Linked DNA regions of Homo sapiens: regions 1, 3, 4, 5 and 6 are each linked to region 2. The links are contacts of gene promoters, found by promoter capture Hi-C in blood cells and fetal thymus (Javierre and others, 2016). All regions are on one chromosome and are shown on one strand. The core of a region is centred on a gene start or on the middle of the fragment in contact, and the rest is flanking DNA. Distances in the headings are between cores, read along the strand shown.

Region 1 (4,438 bases), core at 1,880-4,379, 140 kb before region 2:
GAAAAGAGGGCTATGATGATTTTCTAGCACTGCCTGGGATCAGGAGGAAAAGTTTAACTTGGGGGTCCAGAATTCATAACCCCACTTTTCTCTCAGTAAATGCATATGTCAAGCAGCTTTGTCAGTAAAAAGAGTGATATTCTGATCTCCCTGTGCCTTATTTCTGTGGTTATCCCCTCATTTGGGTCTAAACGTGGGTGAGACCACCCCAAAACCCAACAAACAATTTCTTATGGATGCTATGATTTAAATGACTCAGTTCCAACCAGTTTCTATATCTGTCATTCTGCTCAAGACATTAATTTCTGGCTTGGCTTGGATCTCCTGTTCATCCCTTGGCAATGGTGTAAAGGACCTTAATTGACAGTTCCCTCCAGACTACAGAGAATGGAAGAAGTAGTTTCCCAGAAGCAAATTGTGGCAGTTTCCAAAATAAGAAAGAGATACTGAGCAGGCAGAAACAACAGATGTCCTCTGCAGGGAACTATTGCAAAGGCCCAGGAGAAAGAAAATGCAGGCCTAGACTATGGAGGTAGAATTAATGGGACTTGACACCAGACCAGATGGGGATAAGAATGACTGAGTTGAGGGGCCAAGCGACTGGGGGGGATGATGGTGCCATTAGTATTCATCTCATTCATTCATTAGCTGATTCATTCAACATGCATTTAATGAGCATTTATTATGTGTCTAGTATTGTGCTAGATGCTAAGGATCCAGTGGTAAATAATGAGGCCAGGGTCGGTCTAGGCACAGTGGCTCATGCCTGTAATTTCAACACTTTGGGAGGCCGAGGTGGGAGAATTGCTTGAGGCCAGGTGTTTGAGATCAGCCTGGGCAACATGGCCTGGGCTTGAGCAGTGGGAGGTCCTGCCTGGGACTTTGACCCTTGAGGGACAGAAAGGAAGGGGCAGGGTCTGTTCTTGGCGGGGAGGTGAGAGTCCAGCAGCAGTGGGTGGACAATGACCAGTCATGTCTGTCCAAGTAGTCTTTTCCTGTACCATGTCTTTGGCTGTGTTCTTAGCCTAATTGCTTTTGGTTTCTACTCATGTTTGAAATTTGTGAGAACCCCAGAAAAAATTTAAAAAATTAGCCCGGTGTGGTGGTATGCACCTTTGGTTCTAGCTGATAGAGCAGGAGTATCACCATCTTGGACAAGCACGGCCATTTTAAAATTCACCTTAATCAAAAACCGTCTAAATCCAAAGGGCATCAGCCTAATGGCTTAGGTCAGCATGACCATAAACCACAAATAACATCTCCAACCAGAAACATTCCAAACTCCTCCTCAACCAGAGACATGCTAGCCCCGAAATAACCCCCCTCCAGCTGGGAAGATGCCAGCCCTGAATATAACCCCACACCTGCTGAAAAGATGTCAGCCTCAAGATAACCTCCCCTCTGCCCAGAACATTCCAATCCCGCCATAAACTTCTCCCCAACACATAAACATTCCAAGCTTGTAATAAGCCCCCTCACCCTAAAACCAATATATATCTCTGTAAGAGAAAGCACTCCTTATTTTTTCTCTAAAATAAGCTTGTCTTTAAGGGGTTAAGTCACGTTTCGTGTTTCTTTCTTCTTTCTTAACTCTTACACTAGCTACTTGGGAGGCTGAAGTGTGGGAATCACTTGCTGCCAGGAGGTTGAGGCTGCCATAAACTATAATTAGCCCATTGTACTCCAGCCCAGGTGACAGAGCGAGACCCTGTCTCTAAAAACAAAACAAAAGCAAGGTTTCCACCTTTAGAAAACTCTCCACTTCGGGCTGGGCGCAGTGGCTCACACCTGTAATCCCAGCACTTTGGGAGGCCGAGGCGGTCAGATCACCTGAGGTCAGGAGTTTAAGACCAGCGTGGCCAGCATGGTGAAACCCTGTCTCTACTAAAAATACCAAAATTAGCCAGGTGTGGTGGCATGTGCCTGTAATCCCAGCTACTTAGGAGGCTGAGGCAGGAGAATCACTTGAACCTAGGAGGCAGAGGTTGTAGTGGGCTGAGACTGTGCCACTGCACTCTAGACTGGGTGACAGAGCAAGACCCCATCTCAAAAAAAAAAAAAGAAAAGAAAAGAAAACTCTCCACTTCTACAGAACTTGCAGTCAAGCGGGGGAAAAAAACAAAAAAAACAACAAATAAGACATTGACGGAGTCTGTGCTGGGAAAGGTACAGGCTTCAGTAACAGCACAATAGAGGAGCCCCCAGCTCAGATTTGAGGGGAAATGATGTGTAAGTGAGATGAAACCTTAAGAACAAGGAGGATTTGCTTAGGGAAGAGAGGGAAGAAGGGTATTCTAGACAAAGGGAATGGCATGTGCAAAGGCCTGGAGTTAAGAAAGATTATGACAAGAGGTTGGGCGTGGTGGCTCATGCCTGTAATCTCAACACTTTGGGAGGCCGAGGTGGGCAGATCACCTGAGGTCAGGAGTTCAGGACCAGCCTGGCCAACATGGTGAAACCCCATCCCTACTAAAAATACAAAAATTAGCCAGGTATGGTGGCGAGCATCTGTGATCCCAGCTACTCGGGAGGCTGAGGCATGAGAATCACTTGAACCTGGGAGGCGGAGGTTTCAGTGAGCCAAGATCATGCCACTGCACTCCAGCCTGAGGGATAGAGCAAGACCCTATCTCCAAAAAAAAAAAAGAAATATTATAGAAAGTTGAGGGGAACTGTGATATTTGGCAGAGGAACACCCCTCTTGTGTTGTGGAAATCCTTCACTGCAAGGAACTTGGGGGAAAACAGAGCCACCCTGCAGAAGCTGAAAGGGCAGACTCTTGCCTGCCTTCTTGGCAACAGGGGAGTGAGCACGTGACCAGGCTTGGCCAGTGGGATGTCCTGCCCAGGACTTTGACTCTTGAGGGAGAGAGAGGAAGGGGCAGGGCCTGTTCTTGGTGGGGAGGTAAGAGTCCAGCCTCAGTGGGTGGACCGTGGCCAGTGGTGGCTGTCCAGGTAGGCTTTTCCTGTGCCATGTCTTTGGCTGTGTTCTTAGCCTAATTACTTTTGGTTCCTACTCATGTTTGGAATTGGTGAAAACCTCACAGTATTCAATAAATTCCTTCACTGCTTAGGTTAGCCACCAAGACTTCTGTTTGGTACAGAGTTGAAAGAGGGTCAGTCTGGCTGGAGTTACAACTCAAGAGGGTAAGGAAAGAAAAAAGGGGGAGAGGAGACAGGGTCCTATGGGAAATTCTCTTGGGGGCTTTTGTGGGAGGCTTTGCTTTCCAGGAAAAAGAGATGCACAAGAAGAAAAACTCCCTTCCTGCCTGCCTCAGGGATGATGCAGCGCTTGAAATGTAGCAGCTATCTTGGGACCAGGAGGGGAGAGCTGCGAGACTCAGAGGGAAGCTGACCTAGGGTCTGACATCACTGAGCTGCTGAATTAAGCAACTCAGATGTCACCTTCTTCCACACTTCCTGTGATGAGAGATAAACCCCTAATGTTCAAACCGCATCTATGTCGGCATTCTGATACTCACTGCCCAAAGCACCTTATGTGACATGGCAAGTAACTTAACCCTGCTGGGCCTCAATTTCTCTTTGCAAAATCAGGATGCCGATACCCACTTCACAGGATCACAGTGAGTATCAGATTACATAATGGATGTAAAGTACTTAGCACGGTGCCCTACTCATGGTAAGCACTCAGTAAATGTTAACTATTACTACCTGCGTCAAAGACATAGAGGAGATGAGCTTGTTTTGTGGGAGGGTAGAGAGGAGAGAAGAATGACGACTAAAAGCTGGGAAGCCAACACTTGAGGGGAAAGGAATCAGAGAATGACTAGAGACTAAAGAAGAAAACCTGAAATTTCATTCTACCCACCACATCCTTTTTTTTTTTTTTTTTTAAGACGGAGTCTCACTCTGTTGTCCAGGCTGGGGTGCAGTGGTGTGACCTTGGTTCACTGCAACCTCTGCCTCCGGGGTTCAAGCAATTCTCCTGCCTCAGCCTCCTGAATAGCTGGGATTACAGGTGCCTGCTACCATGCCTGGCTAATTTTTGTATTTTTAGTAGAGGTGGGATTTCACCATGTTGGCCAGGTTGGTCTTGAACTCCTGACCTCAGATGATCCCCCACCTTAGCCTCCCAAAGTGCTGGGATTACAGGCATGAGCCACCGTGCACGGCCACCACATTCTTTTTCTTTTTCTTTCCCCTTTTTTTTTTTTGAGACAGAGTTTCACTCTGTTGCCCAGGCTGGAGTGCAGTGGCTCGATCTCAGCTCACTGCAACCTCTGCCTCCTGGGTTCAAGCGATTCTCCTGCCTTAGTCTCCCAAGTAGCTAGGATTACAGGTGCCCACCAACAGACTCGGCTAATTTTTATATTTTTAGTAGAGACGAGGTTTCACATGTTGGCCAGGCTGGTCTTGAACTCCTGACTCAAGTGATCCACCCACCTCGGCCTCCCAAAGTGCTGGGATTACAAGCATGA
Region 2 (4,424 bases), core at 1,585-4,084:
TGGGGGTGGAGGGCCAAGCCTTGTGCAGGCTCCCAGAGGCCCAGGCCCTTGCTCACCCTCTGATGGGGCCTTCATCCTCAGACAGCTAGACTGGAAGGGAGTCAGTTGTAGTTTTGAGATAAAAGGGACAGGGAAGGAGCGATGGTGAACATGGGCCATTTCTCCTGAGGCCCATGGGCATCTGCTGGGTGCAGGCCTACTCAAAGACTAGTGTGTGGAGGGGTTGGGAGCCCCTACAATACAGGGGAAAGTAATTATTTAGTTTCTGTTTGAGTATCTCGAGGCCAGAGAGCTCATTACCTCCCAAGTTAGCCCACTCCATTTTCATAAAATGTTTGAGCCAAAAACCTTCTGCTTCCAAACGCTCCACAGTGTGGTCCAGCTTAGGCCAGGGTTGGTCATTCTTTCGTTCATTCATTTGGCCTTTATTGGTGTGTACTGTGGGCCAGGCCTTGCACCAGGCTTTGGGGCCATAGATAGGAGAAATAAGATTCTGTCTCTGGCCTTGGAGAACTACGTGCTCGACTAGTATCCCAAAGCCAGGTACATGGGGCTGCTGGATTTAAGTGATTTAGCTTGAAAAAAGGATTCCAGGCCCAAGTAAGCTTGGGAACCATTTTATTAAACACAGTAAAATAGATTTATTTGCAACAAAATTTCTCTAAGCTTTTAATATGCAAATGCACACTGAAAATTCTCCAAGGGGGTGGGTATAAAAAATATACTATATTTCCCACACTTATTAATAGAGAGCATTTGGGGAAATGCAGTTCTAATGTTTTTGTTTGTTTGTTTGTTTGTTTGACCAGTGGAACTTGGAGAAGGCTTCACGGAGAGGATATTTGAGCAAGGCTCAATAAAAGTTGAGTAGGAGTTTGTCAGTGAAGACAGGAAGTCTTAAGGGAGACCGATTAGAGTTCTATGCCAACTATGCTCAGGTCACTCTGCATGTACCGTTTCACTTAGTCTTCAAAAGTCCTGATGTGGGGGACAGAGCCAAAGAGGTCATCAAAAACCTCTAGAGACTCCTAGAGGTCTAGCCCCTCCCTTCTTGAATCACCTTACATCTGGGCCTTATTCTCCAAATCTTTACCTTTAAGTCCTGGCCCCACTCAACCTGGCCTCTACTCTGGCTTAAATCTAAACTTGTTGTAGAGTATCCGGACCTGATCTCAGTCTTAACCCCTCATACACCTTGGCCTAACCCTCGGTACTCAAACCTGCCCTCTCAGCACTTTGGCACCCTAACTTATACCACTCTATTAGGTTTCACCCTCACCTGTCCAGCACATTCTAGCCCCCGTACTCCTCTTAGTCCTGATGCACATCTGATCCGGTCTCCGCCCCCACAGAACCCCCAGCCTGCCAGAGCTCAGCTACCCGGTTTAATACAGACCCATCCTCGCGACCTCGCCCTCAGTCTGACAGTGGCCCTGCCTTTGCCCAACTCTGATTCCGGTTCGTCCACAACCCTGCCCCAGCCCAGTATCTGGTCCAGTTCTGATCTCACTTGTTTCCGCCATCCCATCCGCATCCCCGACTTCTCCCTAACCGCGGACCAGCCGGTACTCCAGGTCTGTCTCAGATCCCTCAGGGTCCGGACTGCCCAAGGCCCCGCCCCCACGGCCCCGCCATGCGGCGGCCCCGCCCCTCCCTGCCCCGCGTTACTCCTGATAGGGCCCTGACCTTGCTGGCGGCCCCGCCCCAGGACCATTCTGACTGGGCCTGGCCCGCGGTCCAGCCCTGACCCCACCCCCCGCCCGGCCCCACCTCCAGCCCGGCCCCGCCCCTTCCCCAGGCAGGCCGGGTAGCGCACCTGCAGCTCGTCGAAGGCGTCGTCGATGCCGGTGACCTGATGCTGCTCGTGCAGTGCAGGCTCGTCGCAGAAGAAGCAGAGAAGCGCGCGGTCCGTGAGGCAGAAGAGCTTGACCTTGTCGTGCGCCTGGCAGGGTCGCGCGGCGCGGCGCGCGTTGAGGATGGCGTCCAGCGGGAAGGAGCTGTAGCGCTCCACGATGTTGGCCAGCTTGAGGCTGGGCGCCAGCGCGGGCTCGGCGAACGTGCGCCGGCACTCGGGGCAGTCGCGGGCGCCCTGCGCCTCCTGCCGCACCCAGTGCTCCGTGATGCAGCGGCGGCAGAAGTAATGCTCGCAGCCCAGGCTCACCGGGTCCTGGTAGATGCTCAGGCAGATGGAGCACAGCAGCTCGTCCTTGAGGCTGCACGCCATGGCGCCAGGGGCAGCAGAGAGGGGGGCCCGAGGGGCAGGGGGGCGGCTGAGAGAGCGCGGCGCTGTCGGAGGCAGCACCGAGGGCTGGGCGCGGGGACGAGGCCCGCACAGGCAGGGGTAGGAGCTACCGGAGAAGGGAGGGGGTGCTGTCCGGAAGGAGGGTAACGCGAGGAAGGGGTGCGCGGCTGAGACTCCGTGGGACGCCAGCCCGGGAGGGCAGTCTAGAGGTAGTGGGCAGCTCAAGGCGATGGGCGCTGGGAGGAGGCTGTGAGCGGCTGAGGGACGGAGATCCTGACGGGGAGGTTCTAGGGGGCGGGGCAGTCCTAAGGGATAGGAGCTGGGAGAAGGGGATCCCGGAGCGGGGTGGAGCCCTTAAGGGGGTCGAAATCCCGGGGTGGGGGCGGTGCGGGGAGGGCGAGAAGCTGGGGATGGGGAATCCTGGGGGAGGGGGCAGCCAGGCCGAGCCGTACATTGGCTGTGACCGGCAGAGAAGAGGAGGGGTGCCGGCCCGCTCAGCTGCCGGATCCCGGCCCCAAACCCTGGCCCAGCGCGACCCCTTACCCCCGCGAGCTTAGCAGCCACCGCTTCGGTCCAGCGCAGCCTCTCAACCCGGAACCAGCCGAATCCGAGCTGCCGGTGGCCGCGGCTGCCTCCCCGCCCCCGTGGGCGGGACCCAAGCAACTCCGCCCCCGCAGCGGGCGGGGGAGGGGCGGGGCCACCAGCCGGTTGACCCCGCCCCACCCCCACCATCCTCCAGCTCCCAGGGAAGCGAAGCCCAGCTGTTCCTTCGGGGTGTGTACTTGGAACTGCATCCAGGTCTCGCTTAGGGTCCCCGCGGCGAGGCGGAGCAGCTAATTTGAGAGCACAACAAATAAACAAGGAGCATCTTTCTGGATCATCGATTTGAAGATGTAGAAAAAATCATATTTTGTATTAAAACGAACAAGAATATATTTGGAATACAACTTCTGCATAAAATATAAAGATAAAACTCTTGAAATGCCCTGCTTGCTTAGAGCGAGTTCAAGGCCCTCACACTCCTAAGCCCTGGGGTCCCATTTCCTCTTCACTTTCTTAAGGAGTGCTTGGGGAGAAGTTTGGAAAGCCCTGGCTAACATCTGGCCCCGGAGGCTGCCTCCATTGGCAAACAATTCTGGAGTGCTGTATTTGTGTGTGTGTGTGTGTGTGTGTGTGTGTGTGTGTAAGGCGGTGAGGGGTGGAGCAGGAGAGAGGGAGAAAAAGTAATAGGAGAACTTGTCTTGTGTGCCAGATGGAGAGGGGATAAGGGATTTCTAGGCAGAGGAGACAGCCTGTGCAAAAGCATAGAGGCGTGAAAGGGGAGGGCGCAGTGAAGGAAGTGCTAGTAATTCTGTACTGTTGGGGGTGGGGTGGAGAAGGAGCCTGGGTGGGCTGGAGGGCATTGTGGGTCATGGTAAAGAATTTCTTGAAGGCATGGGGCTTTCAGGCAAGGGAATGACCTGGTCCGATTGGGTTTCAGGAAGTCTTGGAGATAATCATTATACCATCTGCAAGGTGAAGAAGACAGGGAGCTTTTCCAATGTGTCTGCGGATGCACAGCACTCAGCACACAGTAAAGGTGTGTAGCTGAATAACCGCATCAACGCCCTGGGTTGCAGGAGGAAGGAAAGACTGGGCACCCCTAAGGTGCTGTTGTCATCGTGCCTGCAGGAGGTGAGACCCGAACTGGGGCCTCAGCAGTGGGTAAGGAGAGAAGACTAGGGTATTGCAAGTACAGACACGGTGACATTTGGTGATGGTTGGATACGGGGGTGAGGGAAATGAGCCATAGAGGGTGGCTACCAGTTTCTGCCTCCTCCAGAAATATCTTCATTGGTGTTAAACTTTATTGAGGTACAGTTTATGAAAAAGCTCTCAGTTTAGTTCTCTATGGTTAACACTTTCTCCATCACACCCTCATCTGGCCCAGAATCTCCATCATTGCGAGAAAAATAGTTGGTTGCTCATGCAACAGCAGTTTCTCAACATTTTCTTATGGGCAGAGCCCTGATTTTGGTCAGGTGGCCCCCTTCCCCAAGTGACCCAAGGAAGGCTGACCCCAGCCCATTTCCAGGAGTGAGTCTTGTTTGGTCCAAGTCCATTATGGTGGTCTCATGGAGTGAGTCTTGTTTGGTCCAAGTCCATTATGGTGGTCTCATTCCTCTTGCCAGTGACGGTTTGG
Region 3 (4,825 bases), core at 831-3,330, 240 kb after region 2:
CTGTTTCTTCATCTGTAAGATGGAAATGACATGAGTACTTACCTCAGAGTAGCTGTGAGGATTAAATAAGAATTAACGTTATGCTCTAGCATGACAATTATCATCTATGAGCACTCAATAAGTTGTAATTCCAATTATTATTATGCAATAAACACTACCGTTTCTAATACAACTCCATCTCTTCTATTTCAGGAGAAATGTTGTCTTATCTTCAGTTTCTTTATTGTCAGGAGCTATTCCTCTGGGGACTGTGATCTCATGGGGGAAAGGCACCCACATGAGAAAAGCAAAGAAAATAATGTAGTCTACAATTCTGGTATGCATATCCTTGGGGAAACAGGAAAAGAGGAATAAAGACGGGACTTTGTAAGCTAGTAAAGGACAGGAAGTAGGGCAAAGTGTGTGACTAAGAGCGCTGACACACAGTACTTGAGGTTGGGGGAAATAAGAAAAAAAATAAGAATTTAAATAGCAGAAGTCTAAGTAAAGGGATGTAAAATGGATGCATTCTCTACAGGAACTTATTAAATGATTAGAACTTTGCACTCTGGAAATATGAAGGCTGAAAGGAAGGAGTTATGGGTGATGTCATGAGGAGTACAGACAAGATAAACCCAAATGAGCTCATTTCAACATACCAGAACCCCAGTCCCGGGACTGAGATGAAACAGAGGATAGACAAGAGAAGCTGAAAACTCAAGAACGTTTGTGTTTAGGACAAATAAAACACTGCAAGCAACTCCAAGACATGGGTGGTGTGTTGTTTCTCAGTATTTCCAGCAGTGAGTCTAGTATCTCACATGCCATTAACAAACTGGGGTTGAATGAACAAACATATATATTCAAGAGTAAACATACTGGCAGTAGACGAGAAGGCTCATTAAAGGTTCTTCGCTAACTGCATGATTCCGTCTCTGGTCTCACTCCTGCCCAAACCACCCTTCACATTGCTGATGTGTTCTTTCTAAAAGGCGGATCTGATCTCGTTACTCCTAAGGGCTTTAACAGCTCCCTATGGCCTCCACCATAAAGTCCAAATTCCTTAGCCTGGTAAACCAAGCCTTTTGTGATTTGATGCCAGCCTACTTTTCAGCCTTATTTCTGCAATGACCCTCCTCAAATGTTCTGCTGTGGTCTTGAAAGGTTGTTTGGAGGTCCCCCCATATGTGTTCTCTCAAGCAAATACAACCTCACCTTTGCAGACATTGCTTCTGTCTGGCTGAGAAGCTTCCTCTTACCCTGTCACTTTCTCCAGAAAACTTTTCCTAACATTTCTAAGCAGGGACCATACTTCTATTATGGTACTAAGTACAATACCATAATTAATGTTTCCATGTCTTTCTTTCTTTAGAAACCTCTGTAGTACCTGGCCTGGGTTCTCCTCATCTTTGAATCCCCCCAGCTGCTAGAGTGAGGTATAGAAGCTTATTAAATGTTTGTTGAATAAATAAATATGATTGTAGAGGCCAAAAATAGAAATAAAGCTTAAATACTCAGGTAAACAAAGACAGAAGGATACTAAAAGGATGGGCAAGCCCATCCCTGTAATCAGAAGATTTTGTCATGGCTTGAAGCTACAATACACCCTTCCAACTGAGCTTTGTTATCATGATCAGAAACCAAATTTTTGGCTGGTTATACAATGGGCCTGACCTAGTACCACATTCCCTACTTATATTATTCCAAACCATTTCTAATACTCTGCCTTTGAGAAAGCAATTTCATTTTCACGGGCTTTAGTGTCACCATCTTATGTGAAGTAACCTCTATTTCAAAATGCCCTAAAAGCCAAGTTCTGCCCTCTTATTCTAATTCTCATTTTCTCTCTCTCTTACTAGGCGGAATGGAAAACTTCCTTGGTAATTTAAGAATGAGAATAGTCTGAGCCTAAATTTACTGTATACTTTAGGCAAGTTATTATACCTTTATACATCTCAACTTTCTCTTCCTTCAAATATCAATTCTATCTAGGAGGCCCCAGGAAATAAAGAAAGGTAAAACCTACACAATTCTTATTATGTACCTCACATTATTAACCTGTTTAATTCTATAATTCTTCGAGGTAGGGACTGTGATTCTCCCCCACTATACCCAAGAAGACTAGAGCAGAGAGAGTACAGATGGAAGGCGGCTGGGAAGTTCACAGCTCATGAGTGGCAGAGGCAAGGCTGGAACCCCAGCATTATGGCTCTAGTGTCCCTGCAGTGAACCCTTACCTCCAACTGCCTCTCTGCAGGCCAGCGGAAGATACTGTGCTTGGAACATAACTCTAGCACATTGAAGTATTAAAGGGCTTAAAAAGTATATACTTTTTCAAACAAATGCAAGCCTTATTTGTAACTGAAAACAAAATAAAAGTGGGAAGAGAAGGAATGGAGACACTGAATGGTAGGCTTCAGATATGGGACAGTGTTCCATATTTCAATCCAAATGCATTTTACAGCCAAGATTTTAAGACCTGAAACCATCCATCCCGTACAGCTAAAATAAGAAGGATCTCATGATTTTAGCCATCAAGGAGACGGATGTGTCCTACACTGGTACTATATCTAAAATTAAGATGACACTGTCACTAGATGAACATCTACTTTGGGGTATGGCTTTATGGACCAATGAATTAGTTTTTTCTCAGGAGCAGCAACCAAAGAATAGAAATAACAGAAGATACACTCCTGTTAAGCTTTTTGTACAGAAGCAGAATTTTATTTCTAGAAACAGCATTAAATATTTAATTAAGTTCACATTACCCTATACTAAAAAAATTAATTTGGGGCAAAACTTGGAAGAACTAGGTGTAATGCAGTACTTTCAAATTATCAACTGCTTATAATTGTATTTCCTTCTGGACAATGAAAATACATATTTTTTATTTAGAAAGTGCTGAATAAGGCCGGGCACATGACTGATGCCTGTAATCCCAGCACTATGGGAGGCCGAGGAGGGCAGATCACGAGGTCAGGAGTTCAACACCACCCTGGACAACGTGGTGAAACCACATCTCTACCAAAAATACAAAAATTAGCCGGGCATGGTGGCACACACCTGTAGTCCTGCTATTCGGGAGGCTGAGGCAGGAGAATCGCTTGAACCTGGGAGGCGGAGGTGGTGCAGTGATCCAAGATTGCACCACTGCACTCCAGCCAGGTCGACAGAACGAGACTCCGTCTCAAAAAAAAAAAAAACAAAAAAAACAAAAAACAAAAAAAAAGAAAGTGCTGAATATTTGTTGAGTAAATTAATACTATTATAGAGATTGATTCATTAATACTATTTTAGAGATAGATTCATTTCCAGATGGTTCCTTAAAACGAACGGGTGCCTTATAATAGTCATCATTTGTTCTGGAGAACTTACTCCTCAAGTCTCTTGAAAAGTCTAAAGCCACCTTTATCTGTACCCATGGTTTCTACATCTTTTCTTCCCCCATTAGAAAGAGAACAGAGAAAGATCAGGTTACATTGCTTCTGTGGGCCTGTAAAAATTCCTGCGAGGTTCTCTCTTCTGTCAGGAAAAGTTTCCCTAGCAACCATATTTACACACTCACTCAATTCCCTCCCCTCCTTTGATTCACTGGTGGGTATAAAAATTAATTTGCATTGATTTGCTGAAGCTTACAAGTTAATCATTCTAATAGACTCACAAAATTTTAGACGCTGGTCTCTGCCCAAAACTTGTTTCTCAAAGGGCCTGTTCACTTTCTTTAGAAATTTGAATGTAATTATCTTCAGTTTAAATATTTTTAAATACATTTAATATGTATTCGGAATGTTTCTGGCTTCAGGTAGAGAAAATAATATTTTTCTAAGGGCATCTGGCCTATATTATTAGTTAGGACGATCAAGAAACAAAGAGATACTTTAGTTCTGAGTAAGCAAGGAGTCAGATTCTTATCCAGCCATAATAAGGCCCTGGAAGATAAAAGTCAAGGACCAAAACAAAAAGTCTGGGTCACATGAAATGATGAATCAGGCCTAAGATTCTGGGTGATCAGAGGTCAGGACCTGGATAACAGGAATGGGACATGAATTATCAAGAATTGAGTTTCATTAATTCATTCACTAAGTATTTGCTGTGCAGCTACTAGGGCATGGTGTCGGGAAAAGAGCAGTGAATAAGCCAGACACAGATGTACCCTCATAAAATTTAAGAGTCAAATATCTGAATAGTGAACAAATGTTGATTTTATTATTGAACCAAGTATCTTTGGACTAGGGGTGCTCACTGTATAATTTCCTATAAGGGCCAGAATTGGTTTCAGACTAGGAATGGCACAGAGACCTATAGATAAAGATAAATTCAAGAAGTCTTCACTGGAGTAGATAAGTTGGCAAGTCAAGCAGTCTTGGACATATACAACGTTTCTTTACATTTAACCTTCAACAACGATATATGAGCCTATCACAGGAAACAAGGCTGGATACTTTGCAATATACCTACGTTTTATAAAGAATAAAGTGAAAGCCGATAAAGGTATGAGTTATTCTTAAGCTCTTTTAACAACCATTTACTGAGCATCTGTGACATTCAAGAAATAGTTTTAGGAACTGAAGTTAAGGGTATGAAAAAGACATGGTCCCTAGCAATTATAACAATGTGGTAAATGCTATAATGAGATGCTGAAGTACGAAGAAATATCAAAGAGGAAGATTACTAATTCTTAAAAAGCAAGCTGGGAAATGCCTTCTGAGAGGTAATGCTTGAATTGAGTCTTAAAAGATAAGTAGAAAATTTTGTTTTAAGCTGGTAAATGTTGGGGTAATTTGTTACACAGCAGTGGATAACTACTACAGTGCCTTATGGAGACCATGCCACAGCATAACTAGGA
Region 4 (4,835 bases), core at 189-2,688, 200 kb after region 2:
CCACACTGGGTGAAGTCCGTGTCAAAGCATACTAGATTTTCAGTTGAAAACGAACTGATATCTCTGAATTTAATTCCCTAATTGTTAATTAATGTCCATTTATACTTACAAAATATTCTATGTAATATATATATAAAGGATAATATGCTTGTGTATCCATCAACCAGTATGAGAAATCAAAAATTACCATAATCTCCCTTGTTTTTTCTATGCAAGAACGGAGACCCAGTGTGGGGGAGGTAAGTGACTTGGGGTGATATGGCTCCCCTGATTCTCATCCAGTACCATGGAAGGCACCTCAGGAAACCTCCTGCCCGCATGGTGGTGGTGACTTATCAACGAGAGAGGTGAAGTTTGCCCTGCAGAGAAACCAGAAGCTAGGGTCCTGCCATATGTCACTTTATTGTTGGTCTCCTAGTAGAAGGGAACTTGAGTTGGAAGAAAACATAATTAGTAAGTGTGGACCCATATAACAGCTTTAAAACTTTTTTTTCTACAGTTCCCCTTTTTGAACCAGAGCTTTCATATCTCCCCCTTCACACCTTCCTTCCGCTCAAAGTTCTGGCTGCTGGAGAGTAGCGGAGGCATTCTGCAGTCTCAGTAAGGGCTACTGAGGCATCTGTGGACTCTCCTTACATCCTTCCCTCTGGTGACCCACATTAGAAAATCTGAATCCTTAAACTTTCACAGTATCTAGGCTTTCAGTATTCTACCCACCCCTTTTCAATTTCCTTTTAATTCCTACTCTTATTCTTTCCTTCTCTTCCAACTAGTTCTTTATTTCTTCCCCAAGGCCACCCATCCCTGCGGACTCCCATTATAAATCACAGCCAAATCTCATTAATGGCTAACATCAAGAACTAGAAGTCTGTTTTTCTCTGGGTTCCTACTCACTGTGTGGTTTTGTATGAGCCCGGGCTCTGAAGGGCTATGATTCCTATTTAAGTCACTTCTCCCCTCCTAACTGCAATGGGCCACTTTGAATGATGTGCTGAATATAACTGGCTTGGATAGTGATCTTATTACAGGTCTCTGCTGCCCACAGGGCCTGAGACCAGCAGCTGGAGAAACGCTGATGGTTCTGCCCTCCCAGGAGCCGCCAAGTCTACGAAACACTAGGCCTTTGTCCCCAGTGTCAGGGAAATCCATTTGCTGTGGATTACAGCTGTGACAGAGGTTCCGGGAAAGCAGAGGGGAAGGATACTGAAAACCTCTCTCCAAATCTAGCCTAAAGCCCTGGGGTAAGGCAGGGTGAGGTTTTTCCTAATGGAATCAGAGCTGGGCAGGAAATGAGAAGTCTCGTCAGCCCCATCGTGGCTGCTGGTATTATCATGAGGCGGCTTGGTATGGAGAGTCTGAAGAGATGGGTGAACATATTCCTTTGCTGTGGCTCTGCTTCTCCTTTCTGGATGCCCCTCCGCCAGAGGCATAAGGCAGTAATAACAGAAGATTCAGACTCCCTAGACTTAGGGGACCTGGGGGAGGCCTCCTTACACCTCTCGGCTGCTGCATGAACATAAGTGTCCTGATTTGTTCCAGTCTGAAGCCACTGACTCACTGGGAGCAGTCCAAATGGATGCAGCTCAAACCATCTCAAAAGGTCCCTCCCTCTCCCCTGTCCTCTGCATGTTGCCACCTTTAGTGTCTCTAGAAACCAAAGTAAGTAAATGAAGGCCAACAAAAATAGAAGTGAAGGATGAGGAATTAAAGCTGGTCATATAGTCCTAGCAATCCAAACAGAATGATTTCATTGTGATGCAAAACACTATAAATTTAAATGAGTAAACTTTCTGAAACCTTACTGTTTTCTTCCTAATTTATAAAAGGCAGGTTATATCAAGTATTTCTATAACAAGGTGGTGCTGGTTGGTTGAAGAATATGAGGAGGAAAAAGAAGGATTTGCTGTCTTTTGGAAGGGATGTACAGTGAAAGCCACACTGTGCAGATGCTGAATGCTTGGGGACGGGATGGATGAGTTTGTCTAGACTTGGGCAGCCCTGGACTCACTGCTGTAAGGCAGAGCAAAATATATTCTGTGTCTTCTATGGGCCCCTAATCAAATATAAGCAGTGTCCTTATAAAAGAACGCCATGTGAAAACAGGCACACACGGGGAGAAGCCAGCCACGTGAAGATGGAGGCAGAGATTGGAGCTATGCTGCCACCAGCCAAAGAACACCTGCAGCCACCAGAAGCTAGGAAGAGGCGAGGAAGGACTCAGGGGGAGCATGGCCCTGCCGACACCTGGATTTCATACTTCCAGCCTCCAGAACGGTAACATGATACATTTGTGTTGTTTTAAGCCACCCAGTTTGTGGTAATTTGTTAAGGCGGCCTTAGGGAACTATTATGCTGCCTAATACTCAACCTGACCAGCCTAAAAAGGTCAACTGAAACTAATGGTAAAAAAGGGTGCAAAGGCATTAAAAACAGCCTCGTTAATATCATGGCTTTGTATGCTCCAAGGCAAGGCTTCTCAAAAATGTGGTCCCTTGGCAACTCTCCAAAAATGCAAATTTTCAGGCACCACTTCAGACCTACGGAATCAGAAATTCTGGGAGCAGGGCTCAGCAGCCTGTGTTCTCACAGCCTTCTGGGAGATTCTGATGCTGATGAAGCATGAGAGCCACTGCTCTAAGGGGCCCCACTATCCATTTGAATATGAGATTTAAAAGGGGCAGTCATCATTGATGCCATAAGATGGTCATAATGAAGTCCCTGCAAAAAGGGGCTAGAATTTGAGATGGGAAGAGTTACCAAACATAGTTTCTTCCCTGCTGAAACCTCAAAATACCTCCACGTGGAAAGAAAATGTTGGCAGCACTCTGTTTAGGGATCTTCCTGTTTCTCTCCAGCTTCATTGCCTACCACGTGCTCCCACACAGCTGATTCCAGAATTAGTCATATGCTGTCTCACCCCTTGCCCAGACCTTTCCCTCTGCCTGGGCCACTCCCCAGGCCCCTCACTCTCCATCTCCCTGGCCGGAGCGCATTCACCCTTTGCAGTTCAGCTATAACGTCTGTTCCTCTTAGGGACTTCCTTTTTGTACCCCAGCCTAGATTTGGTGCCTTCTTCTGAACTTTAATAGCATAGCAGGACAGCTGATTTTATTTACTAGGTAGTGATTCCATTATTTTTAGATTCCTAATGCCTAACATGGTGCCGAGCCAGCAACAGTAAGATTTTGTTAAATGAGGAATGAATAAAGCTTGAAGCTCTTTGGGAAGCTCTTCACCTCCTGATGAGGAACCCAAGGTTAAAATACCGAAACACACTGTGCAAATACCATGTTATCTGAGAAGGGACCTTTGAAACTATTAGTAGCCATTAGCACCTTTACTCAAATTTGTGGGTCCAGATGGCTACTCTCAACAGGGCCTAGGACATGTAAATTTTGATTTGGGAATGGAGAGGGGAAATGAAAGATGAGTGGTGTTGAAGTGATGGGTGTGGGACTGTGGTCACTGCAAAAAGCAGATGTAGAAGGTCCTGGCCAAAAGGCTGGGACTAGACCCAGTCACACATTGACTAGGTGGGAGCTAGGCAGCAGCATTATGTGGAGATCATAATACCTTACCCCGACCTCCCAGAGCTTCCGGAAAATGAAACAACATAAATAGGAGAAAGCATTTCGGAAACAAAAATCACACAAAGGCAAAGTATCATGAGAGAGAGTTTAGAAAAGGGGAGAGACGTTCTACTCCATAAAAATGAGCAAACATTGCCAGGGCAGGGTTTACATACAGGAATGCAACCCTGGCCATGTTACGTAACCTTTCTGCGCCTCATTTGCCTCTCTGTAAAATGGACAAGAGTGCAGACTTCATTGGTTTTAAATAATAGGTAAAACAATGCATTTAAAACATCCAGCACAGCTTAAGCATGGATTACAAAGAGAGTACATTAAGGTAGGACAGAAGTTGACTTTTTTTCCCTCAGAGAAAAAAGATACTATCATTTCCTTCAATAAACTCAAAGTTAGATTTTGAGACCGGCTGGTCTCAGGCCCTGTGGGCAACAGAGACCTATAATAAGATCACTATCCAAGCCAGTTATAGTCAGCACAGTGTTCTCAGGTCTAGTAACTTTCTTGGGTCTAGTAACAGAATAAAAATTTTTTTTTTTTTTTGAGATGGAGTCTTGCTCTCTCGCCCAGGCTGGAATGCAGTGGCATGATCTCGGCTCACTGCAACCTCTGTCTCCCAGGTTCATGCAATTCTCCTGCCTCAGCCTCCTGAGTAGCTGGGATTACAGGCCTGCACCACCACACCCGGCTAATTTTTGTATTTTTAGTAGAGATGGGGTTTCACTATGTTGGCCAGGCTGGTTTTGAACTCCTGGCCTCAGGTGATCCACCTGCCTCGGCCTCCCAAAGTGCTGGGATTACAGGCGTGAGCCACTGTGCCCGGCCCAGAGTAAATTTTTTTATGTTATAATCTCAGTCAGCTCTTCCTTGTTTAGCCTTTGTAAGGGTATGCATTTTGGGGATTTATACATAGAAATCTCAGTACCAAGGTCACGAAAAAGACTGCTATAAAAAAAAGACCCCTGGCTGAGTGCGGTGGCTTACGCTTGTAATCCCAGCACTTTGGGAGGCCAAGGCTGGTGGATCACAAGGTCAGGAGTTCAAGACCAGCCTGGCCAACATAGTGAAACCCCGTCTCTACTGAAAATACAAAAATTAGCCGGCCGTGGTAGTGGGCGCCTATAATCATCCCAGCTACTCATGAGGCTGAGGCAGGAGAATCCCTTGAACCTGGGAGGCAGAGGTTGCAGTGAGCCGAGACCATGACATTGTACTCCAGCCTCGGTGACAGAGTGAGACTCTGTCTCA
Region 5 (4,434 bases), core at 1,105-3,604, 220 kb before region 2:
TCTCTCTTCAAATAACAACAACAACAAAAATTAGCCGAGTGTGGTGGGGCGCGGTGGCGTGTGGTGGCACATGCCTGCAGTCCCAGCTACTTAGGAGGCTGAGGTGGGAGGATCACCTGAGCCTGGGAGGTTGAGGTTCTAGTGAGCTGAAATTGCACCACTGCACTCCAGCACGGGCAACAGAGTTACAGAGTTAAACCCTATCTCAAAAAAATAAAAAATAATAAAAAAGAAAAAGACTACAGACCGCCCACCCCAGCCCCTGCTGCTTAAGTTCATACAACTTTTACTCATTTTATTAATTTCCTAAATCTTCAGAAACTTCATAAAGTGACAAGCTAGACCACAGCATTACTTAGCTTCAGCCCTGGAAAGAGATTTCCATTAGTATAAATTTGATTATGCTCCAATAGACTTCAGTGGTTAAAGAAATGTGTTCCTATATTATGTCTGTACTTTCCATCCCCAAGTCATGTAACATAACTAGGCTACCCATTTACAAATAGACCCCTAGTAGGCATCAGGGTGGTAGACATGCGCCAACTTGTCACAATGAACTGTACCCTTAACATCTTCATTTTTCCTGCCCTATTTAAGACCCATCTCTAGGCTAGACAACTCCAAGAGCCTCCTTATCTGCTCTCCCTATTCCCCACTCCATCCAAATTCCATTCTGGAAGGTTACTCTTTTGCTTAAAATCCTTCAAAGAAAAAGAAAAAAGAAAAAAAGTGCTTCAACCCAAAACTTATTTCCATGGCTTACACAGGCCTATCAACCTGAATCCAGTCCACGTTTTCAGGTTGATCTCTAGTCATTTCCCAGGTATGGGGTCTTGCTATTACCCAGGCTGGTCTCGAACTCCTGGGCTCAACTAATCCTCCCACCTCAGCCTCCTAAGCAGCTGGGACCACAGGTGCACACCACCATGCCTGCTCCTCTGTGAAGTCTTTCTTGAAACCATCATGCAAATTCTATTGTTCTTTCATCTATCTAAGAGCACCCGTATTTTCTTTAGTATTTATCATATGACATTTGAATAATTTTCTATCTATCTATGTATCAATTATCTGTCTCCTCTACCAGGTGAAACTTCCTATCAAGAAAACCATGTCTAAGTTCTTTTTGAAATACCCAGTACTCACCCAGGGTTCAACAGTGTATCATTCTGAAAGTATCTGTTGAAGCCAGGTGTGGTGGCTCACACCTGTAATCCCAGCACTTTGGGAGGGTGAGGCGGGTGGCTCGCTTGAAGTCAGGAATTCAAGCCCAGCCTGGCCAACATGGTGAAACCCTGTTTCTACTAAAAATACAAACATTAGCTGGACATTGTGGCACATGCCTGTAATCCCAGATACTTGGGAGGCTGAGGCAGAAGAATCGCTTGAACCCGAGAGGCAGAGGTTGCAGTGAGCTGAGATGGCACAACTGCACTCCAGCCTGGGCGACAAAGCGAGACTCCATCTCAAAAAAAAGTTGTCTGTTGAATTGAATGATCACCTGTCTATACTATTCTTGCTTATCTCTTTCATCTCTATTCTTCCTCTGAGAACTATGCTGCTCATATTTCTTATCTTTTTCATCAAAATTCATCTATGTACCACACTCTTCTAGAGCCTAATTGAAAGACTTTGTACACAGAGTTGTAGAAATGGTTGGAATATAGATATCCTAGTCTAGAGACATGAGCTCTCAATCTATTCAGAGCATAAGGTTTATGGTTAAATAAGGACACTAACCAAAGGCAGGCCAGCATGGTAACTATTAAAGGAGTTTAGGGAAAGTTTGAGTTAAGCCTTAAAGATGCTACAGAAAAAACAAAAACCTGTTTCCTGGTGATCTAAATTGGGGAAATTACATTATATTGAAGATTTATACTACATATTAGCATATTAGCATGTTTAAAGATTTAAGAAACTCATAAACTTGTTTTATTTTGTTTAACTCAGTATTTTCCAAGCTTATTTCCTCACAAAACATTTTTCTTTCAAGTAATGCCTATAACATACCTTAGGAAATAGTGATGTGAGTGAAAAATAGAAAATAAAATCAAAAGATGGTTGGAGATGGCCGGGCGTGGTGGCTCACGCCTGTAATCCCAGCACTTTGGGAGGCTGAGATGGGTGGATCACGAGGTCAGGAGATCGAGACCATCCTGGCTAACACGGTAAAACCCCGTCTCTGCTAAAAATACAAAAAATTAGCCAGGCATGGTTGCAGGTGCCTGTAGTCCCAGCTACTCAGGAGGCTGAGGCAGGAGAATAGCATGAACCCGGGAGGTGGAGCTTGCAGTGAGCCGAGATTGCACCACTGCACTCCAGCCTGCCTGGGCAACAGAGCGAGACTCCATCTAAAAAAAAAAAAAAGATGGTTGGAAACTGTAAAGGAGCTTAAATGATAAGGGTAGATCAAATAAGTTCTCAAAGACATAATAAGAACTCATCTTATAGGTTAGGTAGTCAATGAATAGTCTTAGGCAGGGGAGTGATACAGATGTTCTCCTTTAGTACAAGTACTTTGGCAAATCTGAGACAGATGTATTGGGATGGAGGTTGGTGTACGTGCACAAGAGGAGGGGGTGGTGTGGAGTTGGGGAATGCAGGGAAAAGTTGTGGAACAGGAGGTATGGAGCCAAATCAAGAGAAGAGGTTCAGGGAGGCTTCAGAAAGCAAAAATCCTCCTTCACTGACTGAAATTTGTCTTGCTCAAAGAGCTTGCTTGATCTTCCCTCATAAATGTGCTAGGGATGAAAAAAGCTTCCTGTTTATGGGATGGTCCAGTCTAGTTGTCTGGGAAGGCCAATAGCTGATACTGTTTCCTGGGATCAGGTGGGAGGAAGGATTCTGCAGAGGACAGAGGCAGCAATGAAAGGCTGGAGTGGTGGACCTGCACAAAGAATTTAGGTCAAGACAGCCTTATCCCTTCTTATTCATCTGTACAGAAGATCTGCCCCTGTACACCAGGAAATTTTCTGTTGCCTACTTTGCTCACCCGTCAGTCTCCTAGAGATTCTGAAAGGGTTTTAAGATTAGCAACAGGATACTTGAGAGGAAAACATTACAGTTACCTGACTTCGGGGTTTCTGAAAAGACATACTTGGGCAGAGACTCAAAAGCGTAAAAGATCAATTGTACCAATTATTAGCAATGAAACACTAGGCCCCATGTTTAAACTTCTCTGAACTGGTTTCTCCTTTATAAAATGCACGCCAATATCCACCTGGATGAGACTAAAATGAAATTATGTCTGAATGAGATTATAGTCTGAAGACTATAAAGAACTATAAAAAATCAGTTATTTGTATTTTGAACTAATTTTATCTCATTTGACAGCTTGTTTTAAGATTATACTAGGCCATATTGTTCTTAGTATATTAAATAATAATGTGAGGCCGGGCACAGTGGCTCACGCCTGTAATCCCAGCACTTTGGGAGGCCGAGGTGGGCAGATCACGAGGTCAGGAGATCGAGACCATCCTAGCTAACACGGTGAAACCCCGTCTCTACTAAAAATACAAAAAAAAAAAAAAAAAAAATTAACCAGGCGTGGTGGTGGGCGCCTGTGGTCCCAGCTACTCAGGAGGCTGAGGCAGGAGAATGGCGTGAACCCGGCAGGCAGAGCTTGCACTGAGCAGAGATGGTGCCACTGCACTCCAGCCTGGGTGACAGAGCGAGACTCCGTCTCAAAAAAAAAAAAATTATAATGTGAATGTTTTCCCACTGAAATTGGTTCCCTTATTTATGAATAAAATAAAACCATATTTGAGTGTAAGAGAAGAAAAATCCAAAACTCTTTGCTCTATCCTACAAATATTCTGTAAACAAATCATGAATCTCTGAATGTATGGTGTTCTTGTTATTATGAGTAATTATAGTAAAACTAATGATCAGAACCTGTAAGATTGCTCACATGCCCCCCTCACCCTACCAAATGCACATACAAACAAGGCAGAGGGGAGACCTGATCAATTTGGCTGGCAAGAACTTTATCTGTGGGCAGTAAAGATGGTCAGGTATGGGAATAGGAGGTAACTGGGACTTGGACTTCTCTTCTAGTGTTTATCAATGACCTCTACCAGCCCCAGAAGAATAGAACGATTTGTTTAAAAAAATAAAACAAAGGAGCAGTGTGCAGTGGTTCGTGCCTATAATCCCAGTTACTCAGGAGGCTGAGGTGGGAGTACTGCTTTAGTCAAGGAGTTCAAGGTTGTAGTAAGCCATGATCATGCCACTGCACTCCAGCCTGGGCACAGAGTGAGACTCTGTCTCTAAAACAAAACAAAACAACACTGTTCAAAACAAAACAAGGGAACCATGACATCCAGTAAGAACACAGAAGCTATTTTTTTTCCTGGCATTAAAAAGAGGCAGCAATAATCCCAGCACTTTGGGAGGCCAAGGCGGGAAAACAGCTTGAGCCCAGGAGTTCGAGACCAG
Region 6 (4,556 bases), core at 1,302-3,801, 240 kb before region 2:
ATCTCCTGCCTGGATGACTAAAACTGGGCTCCCTCTCCAGTAGCCCTTAAGTCCAAGTCAAACAACCTCTAGAACAGTGCCAGTGTGAATAAAGACCCAATCACTCTAACAATTCTCTAACTCTTGGCTCCCTACTGCCAACAGGCATTAAGGTCTTCCTGATCTGCCAGGAAGCTCTCTGTCCAGTTCTATCACTCCCTATAGATCCGAAATCATAGTCACTCTGAATTCTTTCTTTCTTTAAATACCTATACATTTTATACTTCCATGACTTTGCACATGCTATTCTGTCTCTCTAGAAATTTCCTTTCTCTACCAGACAAACTTATACTCAGTCCTTAACAACAAAGGAACTATCACTTCCCCTCATTATCCCAGCAAACCATTCACTTCTTGCTAAGTACTCCCACAGCACCTGCCTACTTATTTATTATTATTTGTTTTTAGAGGGAGTCTCACTCTGTCACCCAGGCTGGAGTGCAGTGGCACGATCTTGGCTCACTGCAACTTCTGCCTCCCAGGTTCAAGCGATTCTCCTGCCTCAGCCTCCCAAGTAGCTGGGATTATGGGTTCCCACCACCACACCCAGCTAATTTTTGTATTTTTAGTAGAGATGGGGTTTTACCATGTTGGCCAGGCTGGTCTTGAACTCTAAACCTCAGGTGATCACCCACCTAAAAAAGGTGCTGGGATTACAGGCGTGCGCAGGCCCTGCCTACTTATTATTATGCATCTCTCACTTGTCTGTTAACTCCACAAAAGGAGAGACCACAACTCATACACACTTTACCTTCCCTGCCTTGCACATAATAGGAAATCAAACATTTAACAATCAAATTACCTCCAGGGAATGAGACTGAAGGACATACAGGAGCCAACCTCTTCCCTCCTCTTGGAGCAGCAAACTTTCCCAATAGTGTCTCAGAGCCCATAACTATTGCCTTTCTTGGCTCCAACATCACTTTGTTGCACAGTTAAGTATTTCCTTATAATGGGTTTCACAGTCAAACCCATCTGACTCATTCACTTCCTATAAAATAAAGGCTTTCACAGAACTAGAACAGCTGGACTGGCTAAGCTGCAGTTTCAGCAAGTCAGTCTCCAATTATGTCTGTCTGCTTATTTACAGGGGTGTTGGTTTTAAGAAAGCACAGCAGTGAATATGCCAGCATGTGGGGGCGGGATCCCCTGATAAGAGACAACCAGAGTCATGAGATGCACAGACGGGTCAGTAGCAGCCTGCAGCTGCACATTCAAGCAGCTTCCATCCTACTGCCTGAGCCTTTGCTTTGCTGCTCCAGCTTCAGGTGCCCTTCAAAAATGTGCCAAGGCCCAGGGAAATGAGGGAATGCAATGGAAAGTGCACAGTGTCAGAGACCTGGCTTCTAGTTTCAGGTCTGCCACAGAATCACTCTGAGTTGGAAGAGTCTTTCAGAAAGGGCTCCTACTTAGGTGGTTGTCAGATGCTGGTTCATGCAACGGCTGTGCTAGAATTACCTGGGGAGCTTTTGCAAAACACGGATCACCCCCTAGGTGCCACTCCAGGAAATTCTAAGCTACTCATTCTGGGATGGGTCCCTGAAGTCTATTTTTAAGAGGCTCCCAAGTGATTGACAGGCACTCAGGTGGGAGATCCAGTCCACCTGCCATCTGTTGCTTGAATCCTTCTTATAGCCAAATAGCCATCTGGTCTCATTGTAAACATTTCCAGGGATAGGCAGCTCAGTATCTACTAAAGTAGCCTTTTTCCTCTTTGGGCTTTCATGTTGCTTTTCCCTATATTCTCTATACTGAACCAAAATTAGTTTCCCTTTAGCTTCTGCCAAGTCATCTTAATCTACCTTTTGGTATGAGGCATAGAAGTCTAATCCTTTTCACAGTTGAAGGTCCTTTGGATAGCTGAAGGCAACCATCTCCTCTACCTTCCTATCCTGCTTTGTTCTACCTTTACCCCTCCCTAGGCCTTTCTTCTCCGTTGCATTCAACTGCTTCTCAGGCAACATGTTATGCTCCTCTGAAAATATACACTCTGGTCTGCCTAACTAGTGAAATGACCAAGCAAGTCACAATCTTTTTAGTTACAAAGCTTTACATATTTTCAACACAAGTACATAGAATTGATTTTCCTTATCTAGCAAATGGAAATAGAAAGGTAATAAGGATTGCAGTATCACTAAACCAGCTGGGGGCAATGGTTCATGCCTATAATCCTAGCACGTTGGGAGCCAAGTTGGGAGGATGGCTTCAGGCCAGGAGTTTAAGACCAGCCTGGGTAACCGAGCAAGACCCCATCTCTACAAAAAATTTAAAATGTTAGCTGGGTGTGGTGTGTGCACTTGTAGTCCTAGCTACTCAGGAGGCTGAGGTGGTAGGATTGCCTGAGTCCAGGAAGTTGAGGCTGCAGTGAGCCATGATTGTGCCACTGCATTCCAGCCTGGATGACACAGTGAGAAAAAAAACAAAAAAAAATCCCCAAAGCCCACTATCAATAAACCATGATGGGCTGGGTGTGGTGGTTCATGCTTGTAATCCCAGCACTTTGGGAGGCTGAGGCGGGTGGATCACAAGGTCAGGAGCTTGAGACCAGCCTGGCCAACATGAAACCCTGTCTCTACTGAAAATACAAAAATTAGCCAGGCATGGTGGTGCACGCCTGTAGTCCCAGCCTCTTGGGAGGCTGAGGCAGGACAATCACTAGAACCCAGGAGGTGGAGGCTGCAGCGAGCCAAGATTGCACCATTGCACTCCAGCCTGGGCGACAGAGCAAGACTCCGTCTCAAAAAAATAAAATAAAATAAATAAGCCATGATACAGCATAAATGCTACTGAAAGCCAATGACAAGCCTAACGGAGAGCATTTTACGAATTCTATAAAAATGCCTACTCTCCCTTCCTGAAGCAGGCAGCCTCAGGCAGTCAAGGGGGAATCTCAAGTCAGGATTATTCTTTATATAGAGGCAGCTATGGTGCAATGGAAAGAACAATGAACTTTGCATAACTGACGTAACCTTTTTTTCTAAGCTTGTTTCCTATTTGTAAAAGTAAAAAAAAAAAGGCCTGTCGCAGTGACTCATGCCTGTAATCCCAACGGTTTGGGAGGCCAAGGCGGGCGGATCACGAGGTCAGGAGATTGAGACCATCCTAGCTAACATGGTGAAACTCCATCTCTACTAAAAATACAAAAAATTAGCTGGGCGTGGTGGCGGGTGCCTGTAATCCCAGCTACTCAGTAGGCTGAGGCAGGAGAATCGCTTGAACCCAGGAGGCGGAGCTTGCAGTGAGCCGAGATCACGCCATGGCACTCCAGCCTGAGCCACAGAGTGAGACTCTGTCTTTAAAAATAAAAAAGTAAAAACAAAACAAAACAAAACCATTGACAATTAAATCAAAATAAGATGATACGTGGCACAAGCCTGGCACAGAGAAATGGCTCAATGTGTTACTTCTTATAATTCTAACCATTTCTGTCAGAAATTATCTATTTGTTTACCTGCTATATTTTCCCTTGCCACTGGAGAGAATGCCGCCACTCAGCGTGCCCCCTGAGAGGGCTGCAAAGCTGGCCGTTTCGCTGTAAGGACCTTGCATAACACTAAGTCCATCTGTAGGGCTTCCACTAGTGCTCAATACACTAGTCAGGCCTTCAATGCTGCTTTCCCCAATGCTGGGATTCTTGAGGGCTCTCCAGGCATCTGCCACTGGGGATAGAACCAAACATCCAATTCAAGACAGCAGAGCATCAAAACAGTCAGTAGGCATTTTCCTGCAATGACTTTTCAGAGAACTAATGTATTTACTTAATGAACAGGTACTGTGTGCAGTCGCCACATATCAGGTGTTTTAACATATGTTCATATTTAATCCTCCAAATAACTAGGCATTAATAGCCTCAATTTTAGATGAGAAAACTAAAATTTAAAACTAAATGACTTGTCCAAGGCCATGGTAGTTACATGAAACTATAACTCTGATTCCAAGGCCACTATTCTTTCCACTACACTGTTGCTTCCATGTAACCAAACGTGAAGATTTAAAAAATATGTTTGGGTCATGTGCTGATTTTAATAGGAAGCTTCTAGTAGAAAGCTAGAAAAACCGGCCGGGCGCGGTGGCTCACGCCTGTACTTCCAGCACTTTGGGAGGCCGAGGCGGGCGGATCACGAGGTCAGGAGATGGAGACCATCCTGGCTAACACGGTGAAACCCCATCTCTACTAAAAATACAAAAAATTTAGCCGGGCGTGGTGGCGGGTGCCTGTAGTCCCAGCTACTCGGGAGGCTGAGGCAGGAGAATGACGCGAACCCAGGAGCCGGAGCCTGCAGTGAGCCAGGACCATGCCACTGCACTCCAGCCTGGGCAACAGAGCAAGACTCCGTCTCAAAAAAAAAAAAAGAAAAGAAAAAAGGAAGCTAGAAAAACCTTTGGGGTTTTCTACGTTACTTGTGCCCTACGTTACTTACTACGAGTAGAAACCACATTAAAGTAAAAGTCAGAAGACTTGCCCTAGTCTCAGCTCTGTGAAGCTCTTAATAGATAGTAAGATGAAAGCTTAAAGA

Evidence for each region. The method cuts DNA at HindIII sites, captures the fragments that hold promoters and counts their contacts. A CHiCAGO score of 5 or more calls a contact.
Region 1: a contact is called between a fragment that was not itself captured here and the fragment with the promoter of TRIM62 in region 2, in 2 of 17 cell types (naive CD4 T cells and naive CD8 T cells). The highest score is 5.4, in naive CD4 T cells.
Region 3: a contact is called between a fragment that was not itself captured here and the fragment with the promoter of TRIM62 in region 2, in 3 of 17 cell types (neutrophils, monocytes and endothelial precursors). The highest score is 6.1, in neutrophils.
Region 4: a contact is called between a fragment that was not itself captured here and the fragment with the promoter of TRIM62 in region 2, in 2 of 17 cell types (neutrophils and fetal thymus). The highest score is 6.9, in neutrophils.
Region 5: a fragment that was not itself captured here is called in contact with the fragment with the promoter of TRIM62 in region 2 in 1 of 17 cell types (naive CD8 T cells); the score reaches 5.0 in naive CD8 T cells.
Region 6: a contact is called between a fragment that was not itself captured here and the fragment with the promoter of TRIM62 in region 2, in 1 of 17 cell types (naive B cells). The highest score is 5.0, in naive B cells.

Annotation. Positions count from the first base shown.
Region 1 is chr1:33,042,577-33,047,014 of GRCh38, forward strand. No RefSeq gene overlaps it. Among named protein-coding and RNA genes, the nearest start is that of AK2, 7.9 kb to the left of the region's middle. The HindIII fragment of the contact is 3,184 bases long and covers 1,538-4,438 here.
Region 2 is chr1:33,179,209-33,183,632 of GRCh38, forward strand. TRIM62 (tripartite motif containing 62) reads right to left here and starts at 2,835. Exons shown (of 5, transcript NM_018207.3): 1 at 1,817-2,835. The coding sequence starts at 2,224. It also overlaps a transcript of ZNF362 not described here. RefSeq lists an enhancer at 1,358-1,527 and silencers at 1,610-1,809, 2,400-2,469, 2,700-3,009. The HindIII fragment of the contact is 3,969 bases long and covers 665-4,424 here.
Region 3 is chr1:33,420,930-33,425,754 of GRCh38, forward strand. All of the region lies in intron 1 of PHC2 (polyhomeotic homolog 2), which reads right to left. Among named protein-coding and RNA genes, the nearest start is that of PHC2, 7.8 kb to the right of the region's middle. The HindIII fragment of the contact is 1,196 bases long and covers 1,483-2,678 here.
Region 4 is chr1:33,381,685-33,386,519 of GRCh38, forward strand. The region is part of intron 1 of PHC2 (polyhomeotic homolog 2); the gene reads right to left. Among named protein-coding and RNA genes, the nearest start is that of PHC2-AS1, 34 kb to the left of the region's middle. The HindIII fragment of the contact is 3,537 bases long and covers 1-3,207 here.
Region 5 is chr1:32,956,369-32,960,802 of GRCh38, forward strand. The region is part of intron 1 of RNF19B (ring finger protein 19B); the gene reads right to left. Among named protein-coding and RNA genes, the nearest start is that of RNF19B, 6.2 kb to the right of the region's middle. The HindIII fragment of the contact is 796 bases long and covers 1,957-2,752 here.
Region 6 is chr1:32,938,762-32,943,317 of GRCh38, forward strand. RNF19B (ring finger protein 19B) reads right to left here. Exons shown (of 9, transcript NM_001300826.2): 7 at 3,491-3,698. Among named protein-coding and RNA genes, the nearest start is that of RNF19B, 24 kb to the right of the region's middle. The HindIII fragment of the contact is 935 bases long and covers 2,085-3,019 here.